Linked DNA regions of Homo sapiens: all the other regions are linked to region 2. Evidence: promoter capture Hi-C in 16 types of primary human blood cells and fetal thymus (Javierre and others, 2016). All regions are on one chromosome and are shown on one strand. Each heading gives the region's core, a stretch centred on a gene start or on the middle of the fragment in contact. The rest is flanking DNA. Distances are from core to core; before and after follow the strand shown.

Evidence for each region. The method cuts DNA at HindIII sites, captures the fragments that hold promoters and counts their contacts. A CHiCAGO score of 5 or more calls a contact.
Region 1: a contact is called between a fragment that was not itself captured here and the fragment with the promoter of PCSK7 in region 2, in 3 of 17 cell types (naive CD4 T cells, M2 macrophages and naive B cells). The highest score is 5.4, in naive CD4 T cells.
Region 3: a fragment that was not itself captured here is called in contact with the fragment with the promoter of PCSK7 in region 2 in 3 of 17 cell types (naive CD4 T cells, erythroblasts and M2 macrophages); the score reaches 6.6 in naive CD4 T cells.

The regions. Positions count from the first base shown.
Region 1 is chr11:116,959,982-116,964,271 of GRCh38, forward strand. All of the region lies in intron 1 of SIK3 (SIK family kinase 3), which reads right to left. Among named protein-coding and RNA genes, the nearest start is that of APOA1, 120 kb to the left of the region's middle. The HindIII fragment of the contact is 1,887 bases long and covers 580-2,466 here.
Region 2 is chr11:117,230,264-117,234,530 of GRCh38, forward strand. It overlaps PCSK7 (proprotein convertase subtilisin/kexin type 7), which reads right to left and starts at 1,810. Exons shown (of 17, transcript NM_004716.4): 1 at 1,764-1,810; 2 at 86-205. It overlaps RNF214 (ring finger protein 214), which reads left to right and starts at 2,408. Exons shown (of 15, transcript NM_207343.4): 1 at 2,408-2,463; 2 at 4,004-4,116. The coding sequence starts at 4,010. RefSeq lists enhancers at 499-738, 1,608-1,657 and silencers at 1,848-1,997, 2,208-2,547. The HindIII fragment of the contact is 17,537 bases long and covers 1-4,267 here.
Region 3 is chr11:116,927,301-116,931,417 of GRCh38, forward strand. SIK3 (SIK family kinase 3) reads right to left here. Exons shown (of 25, transcript NM_001366686.3): 4 at 1-80. Among named protein-coding and RNA genes, the nearest start is that of APOA1, 92 kb to the left of the region's middle. The HindIII fragment of the contact is 1,858 bases long and covers 1,682-3,539 here.

The DNA of each region.
Region 1 (4,290 bases), core at 273-2,772, 270 kb before region 2:
TACCCTGATTTGATCATTACATGTTGTATCCATGCAGCAAAATATCAAATGTACCCCATAAATATGTACTATAATAAATAAATACATACATACATGAATTTTACAAACAAATGTACTTCATCTTTTCAGGAAAAATTGCATTGAATATAATCTGTTCTTAGAAGGCACGTACAAAGAAGTTTTAATAGATTAAAACATCAAACTCCTGTCTACTCTTCAGTGAGAGTTCAGATTCCAGAAGACATTGAAAAGTGAAGCTTTGGGCCAGGCACGGTGGTTCACGCCTGTAATTCCAGCACTTTGGGAGTTAAAGGCAGGCGGATGGCTTGAGGCGAGGAGTTCAAGACCAGCCTGGGCAACAAAGTGAGACCTCATCTCTACAAAAAATAAAAAAATTAGCCAGGTGTGGTAGTGTGTGCCTGTAGTCCCAGTTACTCAGGAAGCTGAGACAGAAGGATTGCATGAGCCTAGCAAGGGTGAAGTGAGCCGTGATCACGCCACTGCATTGCAATCTGTGCAACAGAATGAGACACTTTCTCCAAAACAAAAAAACAAAACAAAACAAAAAAACCAAAGTGAAGCTTTATTTAGCAGTTGAATATAGTACTGAAAGCAAGGACTCTGAAGACAAGCTACTTAGATTCAAAATCTTGGAACTATCCCTTAATATATAACCTAGAACAGGTTACTTAATTTTCCAATGGCTCCCTATCTGTAAAATGTGGGCAACAATGGAACCTACTTTAAAGTGATTTTGGGGATTAACAAAGCTAATACATGCAACCTGATTAATATAATGCCTGGCACAGTAAACAGGCAATATATGTTAATTACAGGTAGTGCTGTTGTTATTTTATTTTCTTCTGGAATCAAGCCTTCAACTTTAGGCATTCCTTGGCAAGGATTAGATTTGCTTCACTAAGCAACATAATCCTGGATCTGAAACACATCAATTCCTTATTCAAGGGACAAATTGAGGGACCAAGAAGCAAAATAGCTAACAATTTGTGGGCAGCATTCAGAACCAACTGGCTGCCGCCAGCTGATGTGGGAAGAACATGGAAAGAACAGAGCTGGAAAAAAAATAAACGCATTCCATTCAGGAAAGTCACAGTGAGCCATAGGATGGAACCCACAGCAAGACCCGACCCTGAGGGCTGTGGCAGAGAGACACTGGTCTACTTCTTCACAGCAGGCCAGGCTCCCCTTGCCAACCCTACCTACTAGCTAACACCTGAGAGGAGAGAACTTACTGTTGCTTGGCAATGGCATAACTGCCTGATAAGACCACTTAACAGGGAAAGGAACTCAGCTCCTACCTTAGCTGCAAACTGGAAAGTGGGAGTTTTCTAAAAAGCAGAAAAATAAAGTTGGAACAGAGAAACTGCCAAGTCAGACAGCAGGTGGCTGGCACACAGGTATGATTGTTTTGAGAATATCTAAACAGATAAATGAGTATGAGTTTCACAGCTACAGATTACTGAAGACTATATAATAAAGGTTTTGGTGTAAAGTACACACCAGTTGCTTGAAAAACTGAATGTGTCCACAACAAAGGTAAATCAGTAGGTAAAGAAAAGATAAACTCTCAAAGAATGTTATTATATTGGGGTTGAAAATCTATAAATCTCCTAATTGTACTTACATATGAAAATTATAACAAAGCAGAAAACTTCCAACATGTTACCAAGAGACCATATATTTCCTAAGTTTGCCTGTTCTACACAGAATTCTTTTATCTTCCAAAGAGCATGATTTTGTAAATTGACATTCTAATATTAATTAAACATGACACTGTATCAAGTATGCTACTAAAGAGATAACAGATTGTGAGAGTCCTTAATTTCCCTACTCAAGACATTCCCATTCAACAAATTCTTCTGTTTCAATTGGCATGTGGTAGGAAAAAAATTAAATTTAGATCATGCCAAATTTAAAGTCATAGTTCTTTATTATTCATTCTATGAGAGGAAAAATTACTATTTCTCCCTTTTAATTCTCACTTCTAAAAAACACAGTTCTTTTTAACTCAACTCACTTTTGTAAGCACAATAATGTTCATAGTGAATGAAGCTGAAAAAAATAGTGGTTTCTTCACAACAGGCAATAAATTCACTTGCATATTCTGACACCATATTTGTAAGCAAGATACGGCAACAGAGTAAAAGACAATGAACTAAGGGACAGTTCAGCATTAAGATCAAAACAAACCACCCTTCCCCATCAGAAATAAATGCCCTATAGCAGATAGTACGGATTCAGGGATATGCCAGGACAAATGGACAGTTCAAGAAAGAACTACGTAGGAGGGAAATGCAAAGATCACAAGGGCTCAAATTCTTCCAAGACGAGAAAGAGGATCTCCTTACACTGGTATGCAGATGAACATACAGTAATTTCAAAGAATATAGTGAGCAGACTGCATGCTTTTTAGAAGGAAAGAGAAAACATTACAGTTTGAAGAAAAGCTTATTTTTTTAAAAAATTTGTTTTAAGGAAAGAGCTCTATTTCTTTTAGAAATGTCTTTAGAATTTAGGCAGATATCAAACATTTTGTCATTGTAAGCTTTTTTCAATGGGGTTATGTTTTTATACTAACTTCTGTAGCAAAATTTTTATTCTCTATTTTTATGACAAAGCTTATCTACTCTAGAACATTCTCGGCTCAGCTCTACAACTATTTTATGATCTAGATCTGTACAGTGTAATACAGTAGGCACCAGCCACGTGTAACTATCCAGACTGATGCGCTATAAATGTAAAATATATACCAGATTTCAAAGATAGTAATATAAAAAAGAATTAAACTATCTCCCTGATACATTTTTATATTGATTACATGTGGAAATTATAATATTTTAGATATATTAGGCTAAACAAAAGATATTAAAACTAATTTCACCACTTTTTACTTTTTTAATATGATTATTTAAAAATTGTAAATAATATATGTGCCCTCTTTCTCTTGGACGGCACTGATCCACATAATGCCAACAGGCTACATAATTAATCTACCAGTTAAAGGACGTATTCCTTGAAAATGACTTCTGAAATCATTGACTTGATATTGAGAATTGCCAACTGTCTATCTCACAGAAACCTGGCCCAAGTTACAAGGCTCTCAATGCTCAAACATTGCCTTGGGAGAAAATCTCAAATAAGGTCTCAAAAGTTATATTCTAGGAGCTCAATTTAATTCAATTTTTAAAATGTCTATTGAGCAACTGACTGGTTTACTGTACTGCCCTTGTGTGCAGCCATTCCCAGGAGGGGTTCTCTCAGAGAATTAAGTCTTACAGCCTTAAGACAGCAGTTCCCAAACTGTTTGGTCTCAGGACTCCTTCTCTTAAAAGTTAGGAGAAACTTCAAAGAAGTTTTGATTATGTGAGTAATATCTTTCAATATTTGCTTAGAAATCAAATTAAAAATCAGAAATTAAGACAAAAATTTAAAAGACACGTGTATACAACCACACATCTCCTTGGTCATCAGAGCAATTGCAGCATCATACATAGCATAGTCTCTGGAAATCTCTATTTTATAATTGTGAGAGACTATGAATGAAAAGTGAAAATAATGTTGTGGCATTTCTTTAAAAATGGTTTTGACCTAGGGGACCCACTGAAACAGTATTGGAGTCTATGACATCCCTGAATCAAACTCTGAGAACAACTGCCCTTAAAGCATCACTGTATGTAATGAATTGACTTCTCTTCAATGCATCTAGAATAGTACCATGTTTGGGAGAACTGAGAAAATAGTCACTCAATTTTCTTTTCTATAGGGCATAATGCTTTCACAGGACCCAGCTAAGAATGGCTGGCTAGAAAGGAACTTAAGTACCTTTGGAATCAGCCTTAATGAAAAAACATTTTTATTTAAAATTTACTAGAAAATAGAATTGTCAACAGAAAACAAATTTAAAAGAACCCCAAACCAACACAAGCTAGGCTCTTGAATGCAACCTGTTACACATTAAATGGCCATGATTAATAACGTGCCACATGACCAAGGTCAGGATGTAGGCTGGCCACATTCTTGGGAAGATCCTAACGTCTGCACTGTTACCCAGGCTGGAGTGCAGTGACACGACCATAGCTCGCTGCAGCCTCAACCTTCTGGGCTGAAGCCATTCTCTCACCTCAGCCTTCTGAGTAGCTGGGACTACAGGGACACACCACCACACCTGGATAATATATATTTTTTAATTTTCTGTAGCAACAGGGTCTCACTATGTTGCCCAGGCTGGTCTCAATGGATCCTCCCACCTCAGTCTCCTAAAGTGCTGGG
Region 2 (4,267 bases), core at 560-3,059:
AGAGGGGACATAAATCTTTCCCTAGCTGACTCCTCAGTCCAGTTGTCCTCAAGGCTAATTCCCCATAACAGGGCCCCGTGCCCACCTGGATTCTACATGAGGTTGAGCTCCTGGTCTGGCTAACCACGTCACACTCATGTTGTGCAAATGGAGAAAAGGCATCACTTTCACTGTGAGTAGTGTTGACTCAGCAAAGGCTACAGACCTGTGGGATCCAAGAACAGAAGAAATAATGTCCCACCAATCCCAGGGCAACAAGCTGAGGTTAGATAAACTCCAGGACCAGGGACCAAAGAAACTTCATTAATTGTCATTTCCAAAGATCTAAAATCGGTCATAGACTGGAGCAGAACTGGTACGGTGAGGCCAAATCAGTATAACACCCAAAAAACCCACTTCCTGTGCTATCGTGCCACCCTCTTTTCATTTTGTTCCCCAGAGGCCTAGCAAAAAACAGTTACCAAAATGCCTCTTGAAAGAGTAGGTAATAACGTCCTAGAAGTCCAGGTGGTAGCTAACTTCTTGATTTGTATATCCCAGAAGGATACCAGGGAAAGTGAAAGGAGGGAGGCGGCGGGGGCGAAACGGGGAAAGCCAGAGAGTGCAAACAAAACAGAACAGGCACCAAGGACAAGCGGGCAACCAGGAGAGAACGAATGATGAGAGAACCTCACTAAGCAGCTACTCCTGTACTGAGCTCAGGAGGCTGGCTTCAAGGTGAGGACTCAGACTCCAGACTGGGACTCCAATTGCCTGGGTTTGACAGAACCAGGGAATTGGTCTCAGGAGCCCTCAAAAAAAAAAAAAAAGAGCCAAGTTAGAACTGGGGGACAGACAAATGGGGTGGCAGGACATGTGTGTACCTATGGTGGCTGGGCTCCTTTAAAAGCCTTTGCTCTCCACTGGGTCCACCCTGGGGCAGGGCTTAGTACTCAGATACACACCCAAGCGGCTCTACCTCAAAGCATTCCAGAAAAATGGGAATTTTACTGAAAGGCTTCCTGGAAAGGAGAACTTATGCCACCTCTCCTTTACCTCTAAAAATCTTCATACTACATTTCTTCCTCTCGTTTTCTCTTAGGTTTCCAGGCATATTCCCTCTCAATCCCTCCCTGCCCCCGGGAGCCTCAATTCTCCCAAGATATTTAGGTGTCTTCCCCAGTCTGCATACTCTACTAAGTAAACAAACTAACAAACAAAACCCTTGTTAGCCAGACAGTGGCCCCGCTAGGCAGACTCCTTCAGACTCAGTAGATCCCACCACAGATGTCAGGAAGAAAGAGAAGCAGGAGCTCCTTCTGTCTACTAGTGGCAAAGCAGCATTTTTATCCCCCAGGCTTCTGGGAAAGGAACCTTAAATGCCTTCTGAAAGCAGGTCTCAACCTCTCCCAACGGCTAGGCCTCCCTTTACAGCTCTTAATTGACAAGGAAGAAGAGAATGGGCAGCCTGGAGTCCAAGATCCTGCTCCCAAGCTACTGTCCTCGCTGTTCCACACCCGGCTCCTAGAAGCCAGCTTGGGTACCGGGTCAGTTTCCCGATTCTCCCTCCGTCGGCCTCGATCGCTCCGTGCAATGTGCCCCTCTCCTCATTAGCACCCACATTATCCAGGAATTCTGGGCCCTGGGGCCCCATCTCCTTGGTCCCCCACGCCAGGACCTCAGGCACCCTCTGTGCAGCTCCCTCATCCTCAGACGCCGGCTTCCCCCACTTCTGGGGCCCCCTGACCACCCAGGTCCAGCCCCACACCTAGTTCCCAACTCACCGGCCCCGCCGCAGCTGCCGCCGCCTCCCTGCGGAAACTCGCGGCTTCCCGGGAGCCGGAGGAGCAGTGACAGCAGCATCACTTCCGCCCGCGGCGCAGCCAATCAGCGCGGCGCCTGCGGCCCGGCGACCCCCGCGGGCCACAGCAACCGGCGCCCGGGGTCCGGCTCCCGCGGGCGGCCTACGCAGGCAGGGGCCGTGCGGGCGCTGGGGGCTGAACCCGCGGGCTCCGCCTCCCCGAGTCCTCGGGGCATCTTCCACATGGTCCCTCTTCAGAAGGCTCTCCTTCATGGCGTCCTCTGTAAAGGGCATTTCGGTTCCGACCTTTAAAAGCCACTCGTTGCTCTTCTCCTTCTGACCGCCATGGCCCCGACTGTCCCTGTAATCTTCCCAGAGGGGATCCTGCCCACCCAGGTCGCCTTCCTTCTCGCAGTCGGCTCTCCCTTCTTCCCCGCGCCCCGGGAGAGTCCACTTGTATCTCAGGGGTCTCCCGCAGCATCCCCGTGCCCCGGCGGCGCCAGCTGTCGCCGCCAGAGGGCGCCGTCGGGGGCGGCGCGGCGCCACCGCGGCCTCTCCTCTCGCGGCCGGAGCCTCGCCCCCTCCGCTCGTGCCGCCGGAAGTGGGAGGTGCCGCGCGCGGGCCGGCGCTCGACCCCTCCCCCCGTGGCTCGGCCGCCCCCTCCCCCCGCTCCGCCCGCTCAGGTGCGTCCCGTCCCTCCCCCACTTTCCTCCCGGGGGCGCGGCGCGGGAGGTGTGTGCGGGGCGAGCGTGGGTGGGGGTTGCGGGGCGAGGGCCGGGCATGGGGGTCGGGTGGGGGGCGTGGAGGGTGCTGTGAGAACCGAGGCGGGGGTCCCGGCCTAGAAGTGGGACGGGGGGGTGGCTGGCAGCGGGGTGGGGGGACCGAGGGGAAGGGGTGGAGGGGGGTCTGGTCCGAGCCAGCGGCCAGCCTAGCAGTCCCCTGTGGGGGGTGGCCAAGGCCACCCAGCGCCGCTTCCCCCCATTGTCCCCTTCCCGTCTGTCCCCTGTTCTCGCCCGAGGACCCGTGGCTCCGGCGCCCCTGCTTCGCTGGTGGTCGCCCCGGGTTGCGGAGTTCTTTTTGGTACACTCGACCCTCCAGCCAGCTGTTCCTACCCGCGCCACGGGCTCTCTAGCCACGGAGTTGCATGCATGGCCCTTGTCCTGGGGTTTCGTTCACCGGGCGCAGAGGACCCCCCAGCCCTGGGCTATGTTGGAGACGGGATGTTTGCACCTGAGGGAGCAGCAATGGCGGTTTGGGCCCATTTTCTCCCAGGAGCTTTGTATAATGAGGGAAACTGAGGCACAGAGGGTCTGTGGGCTGTGACTGAGGTGTTGACACAGCCCCATCTACCTATCTGCCCTATGCGCTCTTCAGTGTTCCGGGGGGGAATACGTGTGATGCTGTTAAAATAAAAGCAAGAATGCAAACTAACCCGATGTTCATCCCCACCTCCCAAGTATTTTGATTTTCTTTTCTCCTCATAAGGTCATAAGTTTGCTCTGCGGCATAAAAGATGACCTTTTGATTTTTAAAAAAGGCGTCCGTCCCAGTTCCCTTACTTGTGTTACCATGTTTTTTACCTTGACTTTTTCACGCTAGAGAACCCAGGATTCTTTTTTGCACCACTAGTCACTCTGAAGAGTCTGTTCTTTGCTCAGTTAGTGGGTATCAGGCCTTTCCCATCTGTGGGGAGCACGCTGACAGTAAAATATGCACCCTGGATTGCCCAGTATTGCATTACTTGTTGACTTACAGGCAGACACCTCCAAAAACTTCCCTTAAATTAATGGAGAATGCTTTGAATGTAACAGCCATAAAGTGATTTAAAAACATGAGATCTGATTGATACTAGGCCGAAAAGTACGTCTTTTATTAAAAATGATAGCAGACAAGGTAGGCCTGGGACCACTTGGAAGATCCTGGCAGACTAAGATGTATTGTTTGAAATGACTACATTTCTGCCAAAAGTGAAAATAAGATCTTTGCACAGACTCCTAGATATTTATGTAAATACAGTGACTCCTGAGGATTGCTGCCCACTAGGACACTAGGACTTTGCATACAATGTCTCTTTTAGTACTCTTAAGTATTTTCTCCCGGAGCCCAGGTTTTTGTGTTTCTTTACTGCGACAGCTCTGTTGTGTGGACATTCTGAGGGGGGAGAGATACATTTGTTTTAAACTTTGGAAACTTGTAGCCTGTAATTTGTTTCTGAATGTACAGAGCATAATGGCAGCGTCTGAGGTTGCTGGTGTTGTGGCCAATGCCCCCAGTCCTCCGGAATCTTCTAGTTTATGTGCTTCCAAATCAGACGAAGGTCTCCCAGATGGTCTAAGGTAATGTGTGGACTCCTGACTGGGAAGATTCATTTGGGTAAAGGGTTTTTGAGATGGTCTTGTGTAGCTGGTCTTTCTTTTTGGCTCTGATGGCACTGCACTAGCTTTTTAAAGGTACAGGACTGTCTGATCTATCTTTGTATTTCTGGTA
Region 3 (4,117 bases), core at 1,361-3,860, 300 kb before region 2:
AAAATAGACAGCTGTGACGATCTGTTTGAACTTCCGACGTGCCTCCTTTTCTGCCATTCTACCATGGGCCACCAGGTGGTCTGTGTTGAAGAAGAATACAGTCAGTTTTCATTTTGGACACTTGTGTAATTTCAAAAGGTAGACTTAAGGAGGGCTACAAGGGGCCCTCTCGAGTGAGTTAAAGAGGCAAAATGAGCAATGAGAGAACAACACATTGATAGTCCTGGTTTGCATCTATCAAAATTCATTAGTAATAAGTATCCAAACTATTTTAAGTATAAATCCTGTTATACAAAAGTATGCATAAGAACACACTTGTACTTTCATTAGGAAAAGAGAGTTCTGGTGTTTTTCAAGGGTCATAGAACTCACTACCTTTCTTTTCATATCCTCACTGCAGAAGACTGCACAGACATGAGCAAACACACACATGAAGATAAGTATCAGAAATATTTCCTGTGTTAAAGAGGAGGTAAAAAAGCAAGGCCCCAATATTAAATCATTTAAGGAAAGGGTGGACAGAAATTCGTCACTGCTAGGGGGAGAAAACTCCTCGACAGAGCACTCTGTTTAGGTTACTATCTTTCTGCTTTCTCAAAGTTCTTCGATTTGACATAAAAACACACTTACTCGGTAACTGTTCTCTGGAGTGCATAGCGATATACCTACATCTTTATATCTGCATTTATGGGGCTCACCAAATGGTTCTTACAAAATGATAATTTTTACAGATAACATCAATCAAAAACCAAGTGAAGTTTCTACCAACTCAAATAAAATCATTTCATTGGCCATGTTGTTAACTAAGGTATATCAAAAGAATTTACATGTGATAAAATCATAATACTATAAAGCAGGCTATCCTCAATATTCAAAAATGATTTGATGGATTAGCAGGTTCTTTAAGAACTTTCTAATAATAGCAGTAGGTTTATACCAAACCAACAACATACATATCTTTGACTCAGTTCTTTATCAAACCAACAACACATATAGGTCATGACAGCTAGTGGGATTAGAAATGTCAGCTATGATACAGTTGTTCTGTTAGAAATGTCTAATAGTCTCATGAGCACTGTCCTTTAATCAACTGATCTAGCTGGGAAAAGGACATATTTGCCATCCTAAGCATCCTGAGACAGTAGGAAAGTGAAAAATGAGGGAATATAGATAAATATATTGTGATTTATCAACAGTTTTGGTAGAATACACAATTGTTTTGGTGACATCTCACTCCCTCACAGGACCAGTCAGGTGTATCTTTCCTTCACCACAAAGAGGAAGTTCAGGGTAGCACATATTTACTAGCAATAACTGCCAAGACTGAGCGCTTGTGGCAAGAAATGGTAGGGGAGAAGGTTGAAGAAGGGGAGTTAGATGCCAGCCCATCTACAGAGCAGATTGCAAAATAATTCAAACTGCATTCTGACCACAAGAAATATAACATTCTGGAATGCAAATACTGTAGTCACTTTAAGAACATATCTTATATGTAGATAATATAAATCATTAAGAAAGATCCTCAAAGGAATTATTGTAATTTTTGTTCGCCACACACAAGGCTTTTGAAGCATCTCCCTCAAAAATACAAGTCATTGTTATAGCCAAGATTATCGATTTAATAGAAGAAAAAGGAGAAAATAAGAAGTCTTCCACTTAGCAGTTAAAAGGACTAGAATCAAGCTTTCCCTGGGAGGTCAGAGGTGGGGATAAGTAAGCTCCCACTCGGGTGTGTTTAGGCTTCCGGTGAGGTCTGCTATGAACTTTAAACAACACGAAGTCCAAACTAGGGAGAGTAACTTAACAGAAGCTGTGAAAGAACTGGCCATCCATCAGAGGTAGAATGCTATGTTTTAAGAGGCCATTTTCTAACAGTACCTGCTCCTCTGACCCCCTATTTCTCTTAACCCAAGGCCTAATTATTCTAATAATATGTTTTAGTTGCTAAACCTTGTCTAATTAAAGAGCTTTGAAGAGACAGCTATTCTTGAGAAACATAAAAATAAACCCTTATGAAGGTTTACCATCAGAAGCTCATTTGGCCAAGCTACCCATTAATTAAAATGCCCAAGAGACATTTGTCTGGCAGTAAATACTAATTACCAGAACACATCAAAGTGCTTCTTAAATGCTGCAGAATGATTAATTTCACAATTTCCAAAATAAGTGATTTCTTTTATTAAGAAAGTCTTTATAAATTTCTAAGTACCTTGTTTTCCTAAAGTGATTGGAAAGTTCTCAAAACTGTTATACGGGCCAGAAGCTGCTGGAATGCAGCCTAGTTCTGTTTTATCTCTACAGTGACACATCAGTTGTCCCTGGACAAATCATTTATCCTGCCAATACCCCCACCTCTTGATCTTCTAAATACAAGTAAACTCTGTTGCATGCTATACCCAAAGAAAGAACAGAATATTTGGGAATAAACGTGTACTCTGATTAAGAGTATCATACGTTAAAACTTTCACTTTCAAAGATGTTGCAAAAGACATTTTTGAAAAGGTCCACTGAATACTATATAGGGAATACTTAAACATCTAGTCAATAGAGCACAAAGTCCTTCAGGATTCTGCAGAGCTTAAAGGTGATTTTCTACACATCGATTGTCACTGTTAATGGTTCTGGTTAAAAGGTAGCTGTAACAGCGCACTGGGTAGTACAGCTTAAACTATAATACTTTCCCCAAAGTTACCTTCAGTACCCCTATAGTTATAGATACAAAGAAGATAAACAAATCACTTTTTTTTTTCCCCTGGACTCTAAATACACTTACGGAACAAATCACTTTTTTTTTTTAAAGTGTTCACATTAGATATTTGCTCCTAGCCATTGTGTTTAGGGTTCAAGTTTTCTTCTCTTTGGGAGCACTGTGCTCTTCACATGCAAGCTCCTTCCAGTGGCTCAATCGCATTCAGACCTCAGCCTCTGCCCTGATTTTTGCCCATCTTATCCCCCCAACCCCTACTCCCATTGGTTTGCTTTCACTGTAAACCTACGAGGTCTAGTGGGTGTGCCAGGAAGCCAGCAGCCTGCAGTGGTTTTCACTCCCTGCTGAAAATCGCCTTTCAGCTGCCTGCTGACAAATAGCTGCTTTATATTCGTATATGCTCTAGAGGCAGGCAGCAAACATTCTTCAAGTTCAAATGTGATATTTAACTTTCAGTGAAGAAATCCAGAGCTGTAGACCAGCCTGGACTTAACACATAGTCACAGCATTTTTACAAATACTGCAGTACTTTCAGAAGGCAAATGAAACCAAATGGCTCCTGAATCCACTCAATACGCAAAGTAAAATGTACGTTGAACCTTGTCAGGATAAACTCCAATTGCAAGGAACTCCAGAGTTGTTCTGCTTCTTCCAGGCAATTCAGTGAACTACCTCTCCTAAATACTGAGACACAAATACTACCCATATCCTCATCCCAATCATCCACACTGCAGCCATGCCCCTAGCTAGAGTCCTGCCCCCTCCCCACCCCCACCAATCTAAACAAACCTCAAGTAGACACCTGCTGCATAAAGTCAAGTCCATCACACTAAGCTTTTTTCACCATCAATCAACTACTTATCTATTTAGTTGCCATTATAGGTCTGGGACAAATTTAAAGTTTTCTTTGACCACAATTTCACTCCAAACATGTACCCAGACAGGGATGAGGTGACTCTCGGTTAAAAGGAAAAAAAATGGTTCTCCTGTTTCAAGTGCTTTTCAAAAGTAAAAAGTAAAACAAAGTAAAAAAAAGTAAAAAGTACTTTTAAATTCTCTTTCTCACTTTCCCATGACCATGACTTGGCATTGGTCTTCTTTAATCTTTTTGGTCTGCCCTTCCTTGCAAAATGAAAAGAAGTAAGTGACACTAAGAGATTTACATACCCGACGAAGAGTAATATTGTTAGAAGTACAGGAAATCGATTTTGAATTTTCTAAAGTATTAGAGCACCAGCACGTAAGTTTGCTTCAGAATTCACTGTTTGTAATTTTGTCCCAATCTTACTCAGGAAGAAAATATCTTGTGGTACATTTAGGTTCTGACCTTTCAAAGAGCAAAAATACACAGAAGCCAGTCTTACCTTCCCTAGGCCAGCTTCAATGGAGTGTCAGAGGTATGCCACTAAT